Regions from separate parts of the Homo sapiens genome. Here region 2 is linked to region 1. The links are contacts of gene promoters, found by promoter capture Hi-C in human tissues and cell types (Jung and others, 2019). All regions are on one chromosome and are shown on one strand. Each heading gives the region's core, a stretch centred on a gene start or on the middle of the fragment in contact. The rest is flanking DNA. Distances are from core to core; before and after follow the strand shown. Region 1 holds the start of SP100 (SP100 nuclear antigen). Region 2 has its middle 140 kb from the start of LINC01907.

Region 1 (2,539 bases), core at 11-2,510:
CTCATGGGGAAAAGAAGAGCAGAAGTAGAGTGAGGGTAGAAAGCCCCTTCCCCCACATTTTCAAATGTACCTGGACAAGCATCCTTATTCACAGCTGGAAGAAGTTGGATTCAGTAGAATGCCATTTGGAAAACACCGTTCTGAAGTGCCATCCCCTCTGGCCCCTGAATCCTCACCAGCTTCCACCCTCTGCTCACCTTGGGCCCTGGATTCCAGCGCCCCCAGGCTCCCAGCTGCCTCCCTGTCTCTGCCCCATGGTCCGGCCTGGAGTTCTGGTCCCTGGTTGTGTCCTGTGGCCCCATTCTCATGCGCCCTTTGCTTCTGTTTCTTTACCTATGACTTTATACTGATGTAAAGCGAGTCTTCTCGGTCGCTTCTTGTTCTCTGAGGAATGATGAATCAGAATCTAAATGGAAAATCTGGGCAGAGATAGAACCTCCCGCGGGAGCCACCCTGCCCTTCCATGTCTAGATCATCTGGGTTCCAACCTCCATCCTCCTCCAATGAGAAGCTTTTGTTCTCTCAAGATTCCAGTGACTTCTCCGAAGCTTAGGTGTCTCTTCACCCCTGGCTGTTCCAAGGCGGCCCCATAGTCAAGATTCCTTAAACCCTTGCCCCTTAAAATGTTTGCCTTTCTTACCATGCTGGCTCCAGCCTCTGGTCCCAGGGGTGTGGAGAGTTCTCTCTTACTTCTGGCTGATTTCCAGGAAGGCTAAGCACACTCTCCCCAGGTTATAATGCTGAGCATTTTGGTTCTCTCCAGCCCTGGGTCCCAATGTCAGGACCTACCTTAGTCCAGTCCATGCTCTCCCATGGGCCTGAGAGAAGATTTGAGGTTTCTGGCTTTCCCTCCAACCCTCCAACTCCCACCCCAAGCCATGTCAGCAAGGGGAAGGGGCAAACATGGAGTTTCCCCCCCAACTCCCATGTAAACTATGCCCCCTCTTAGAGGGCAGAGCAGCTAAGGACAATTTTGTTTCAAGGACATTTTTTTTGGCTGTGTATTGCACAAACAAGTGGACACCCGGGAGCTGGCCCTGCTCGTCCCCTGGGCCCTCCTTCCCTGGTCCTGCAGGTCTTGCTGCTTGTCAGGCCTCTCCTCCAACCCTCTGCCACATTTCAGAAAAGCTGAGAATCCCTTGGAGTGAAAAAGGAGGAGAAACACAGTGTCCGTAGCCCAGAAGGAGGTTAAATACTTTCACTTCTCTTTTCCCCATTTGGGCGGAGCCCTTTCTGAGTCAGTCTGTCGGCCGACTTCCTGCTTGGGGCCTGGGCAGCCACACTGCACGCAGGCTGGGCCGACTGAGGGGCTCAGAGGCCAGGCTCTGAGGCCCACGCAGGGCCTAGGGTGGGAAGATGGCAGGTGGGGGCGGCGACCTGAGCACCAGGTGAGTCTTTATCTCCCTTCCTTTAACCTTTATCTCTGGCTATATTGCAGCTTTCATGCCTTTAGTTCAGTTTGTGCCTAAGGCTTCACTTTAATCCTTCTTTGCAAGAACATAGGTATGCGATGTTATATAATGAAATGAAAGACAAGTAATGAGGAAATCAGATTTTTTAAACAGGAGCAGGACAGCTGTTGGTGTGAGTTCAACTTGCCATAACACACGTGACTTTCTTGTTTTGGATTTACTGCTCAGCTGACCGGGACACTCTAAACATAGCAGTTGTTGGTGGCTGGGATTAACTATTTCCTCATGATCTGTGAACCCTTTCACCCCTCAGCCTTCCTCTACCTTCAAATATGTCATGTCAAAAAAGGTGCTTTAGAAAATAAACACTCCAGGGTAAACACCTGGCTTACTTTTAAACATCAGACGCTGTGGTCTCACCTGTCCTGGCAAGGGGCCTCTGCCGGCTGTTCCCATGACTGGCTCAGGGTCTGAGTTCTTATTCCATCAACCTTGATCAAAAGAAGGAAAGGGAAGAAAAAGGCCCAGGGTGACAAACGGCTAAATATTTTCATTTTTACCTCAATTTCCTGTCCCAAGATGGGGGATACCTCTGACCAGAAAAGAGAAGGAAATCCTAACTTTTCTCTAGTAGTGAGTTGAGAAATAACATTACTTAATCTTTTAAATTTTTTAATACAAAAGAAATACACTGTACATTATTGTTCATAAAATTTAAAACAGTGGAGAAGTATATTAAGGAAAAAGTCATCTTTGCCACTCAGCCATTCTTGTAGCTTCTCTTCCCAGTCCTGTGAAGAGTCTTGGGCACAGCTTTTCTTATATTTTTCTATGCATTTATATATCTAATGCATTTTTTGTAAATACGTAATTTATGTTCTTGATTTATAATAAATTATATTACATGTGCTAGTCTGCATTTTGCATTTTTACTTATTTTAATAGTGGAAAACTTAGAGATCTTTTAACCTTAATACATATAGATCTGCCTCATTCTTTTTATACATGCTATTCCATAGAATTGATATATGATAATTATTTATTCTCCAATTGAAGGACATTTAGATTGTTTTTAAATTGTTCACATTTACCAATAAGCTATCATAACAATGATTATATATTTCTTT
Region 2 (2,539 bases), core at 27-2,526, 140 kb after region 1:
ACAGCCTGGTAGATTTAGATAATAGACCATTGGCCACTGTTTGTCTCCCATTTTTCCACTTCCTAGATAGTAGTTGTATTGGGATTACTCTGTCACTCATCAAACATTGTATATTGGAAGTACAGTAAGGGAAGACAAACTTATTAAAAGGTCACCAAAACATCAAGAACATCATCCAGACCTGATAGGGAGAACTGTACTTCACACAAAGTAAGTGGATATTGGCCTGTGTGCAGTAATTATATGGGAGTTTGTGTTATCTCCTGTAAGGGAGGGGCAGGAAGAAAGAGGGTAAGGGGTTCTATATGTGGGAAGATCGGAAGAAGGGTGATACTTGAGGACAAGATAGAAAGTGTATAGGAGAGACAGCTAGCTGCTTACCCAAACTGTATTTTCCTCTTCTTCCAGGGCACACAGTTAAACTATATTTTCCAGGAATTCCTGCAGGTATGAGTGGCCTATGACCGAGTTCTAGATAGAGGAACATCTGAGGAAGACATGTGCCTAGTTCCAAGGCTGACCCATAAAAGCTTCTTACACGTACTGCCCCACAATCTTTCCTCTGCCATGAACTGGATGGCAGTCTCCAAGTAAGGACACCCTTGGAAGCCATGAGTGTCAAAACCTCCATCAGTCTGAGACCATGCATAATTACATGGAAGAGAGCCCCCAACAACCCAACAACCCTCCCATCTCACCAACTTGTAACTCATTAGACTGTTTTAAAAGAAATAAACTTAAATTTTGTTTGAGGATGTTATATATATTGGGGTCTATTTGTTAGAGCAGATAGCCTAATTTAACTACTACAAAGCAAGCTAACTACTACTATTACATGAATCTTCCAAAATCAAAAGGAATTATTTTCTATTTGTAACATATGCAGCAAACAATTAGAATAATTCTTTTGTAAAGAAAAATATGTTTATATGAATATTAAGAGTTTTATTGGCTTTTCTGTTTTCCAAGTGGCTTTTCCCAAAGTATATTTACTTCTAATATCTATAAGATTTATAAAATGGCAGGAGAAATCTAAAATAGGAATGTGTAAAGTCCTTATGTTGTCTAGAAAATGGTAAGAGTATTAATGTTTACTAGGCATTGATAAACCAAAAATGACTATAATAATGTAATTTTAATGTAATCCAATAAAGAAGTAAGAAGAAGAAAAGGAACATAAAACAGGTAAGACAAATAGAAAACAAGCAGGAAGATGGTAGATTTAAACCTAAATATATCAGTAGTTACATGGAAAGTAAATGAAACAATTTCTCCAATTAAAAGCCAAACATAGCCCAGGCACAGTGGCTCATGCCTGTAATCCCAGCACTTTGGGAGGCTGAGGCAGGTGGATCATGAGGTCAGGAGTTCGAGACCAGCCCGGCCAATATGGTGAGACCCCCATCTCTACTAAAAATACAAAAAAATTAGGTAGGCATGGTGGCGTGTGCCTGTAGTCCCAACTACTCGGGAGGTCAAGGCATGAGAATTGCTTGAACCCAGGAGGTGGAGGTTGCAGTGAGCCGAGATCATGCCACTGCACTCCAGCCTGGGTGACAGAGCAAGACTCCGTCTCAAAAACAGACAAAAAAAAGGCAAACATTGTCATACTGGATTAAAGAAAACCTATAGGCTGCTTGCAAGAGACATGATTGAATATACGAAGATATATAAGTTAAAAATAAAAAGATGGAATAAGATATGCAAACACTAAGTCGTCTCAAAAAAATATAAAGCCGGTGAATGGTATCAGAACATATCACCCCATAATATGCCACTTTGCCATGTTGATTATTTTGAGCTGAAGGCAATTGAGAAACAGCAGATGCAGAAAGGGGTCTCTTTCTTACACCTTTATGCCTAAGAAAAGTGCCATCCCTGTACCAGGAATAGAACATTCTTATCACCAGAGTCAAGGAGTTGAAGCCATGATGAATCTGTACAAACAAACCTCACTAAAATAACCCTTATCTCCCATTAGTTTTCTCCATATATTTCTTAGTCACTTTCCCATAATTTACCACTCTTAGCCCAAATCCTTTTTTCCTTTGTATTGTTACATCTCCACAAGTTATTGCTCTGTGTTAAAATAGTATATAAGCCTCCAGTCAATTCATTTATTTGGGGTTTTTATTTCTTGCTATGATGTTTCCTTTGCCATGTAAAAATACTAATATTAAATAAAATTTCTGTGCTTTTTCTCCTGTTAATCTGTCTTTTGTCAGTTTAATTTATAGGTCCCAGGCATTAAACCTAAGAGAGTAAAGAAAAAAAAATTTTTTCTACACTGGTGTAGACTTTTAAGCAAAAAACACCATTAGGGATAAAGAGGGACGTTACACAATGATAAGAAATTCAACACACACAAAAGATAATTCTACATTTATTGGTACCTAACAGAAAAGCCACAAAATATATAAAGCAAAGATTGACAAGATTAAAAGGAGAAATAGACAAATCCACTACCAAAGTAGAAGCTTGTAACTCACCTCAGTCGCTGATGGCACAAGCAAAAAATCAGTAAGGATGTAGAAAATCT

Evidence for each region. The method cuts DNA at HindIII sites, captures the fragments that hold promoters and counts their contacts. A contact is called where the count stands out against the background at its distance.
Region 2: a fragment that was not itself captured here is called in contact with the fragment with the promoter of SP100 in region 1 in 1 of the 25 tissues and cell types used here (spleen).

The regions. Positions count from the first base shown.
Region 1 is chr2:230,414,941-230,417,479 of GRCh38, forward strand. SP100 (SP100 nuclear antigen) reads left to right here and starts at 1,261. Exons shown (of 29, transcript NM_001080391.2): 1 at 1,261-1,388. The coding sequence starts at 1,357. RefSeq lists an enhancer at 908-1,427. The HindIII fragment of the contact is 8,532 bases long and covers 1-2,539 here.
Region 2 is chr2:230,557,449-230,559,987 of GRCh38, forward strand. No RefSeq gene overlaps it. Among named protein-coding and RNA genes, the nearest start is that of LINC01907, 140 kb to the right of the region's middle. The HindIII fragment of the contact is 4,770 bases long and covers 1-2,539 here.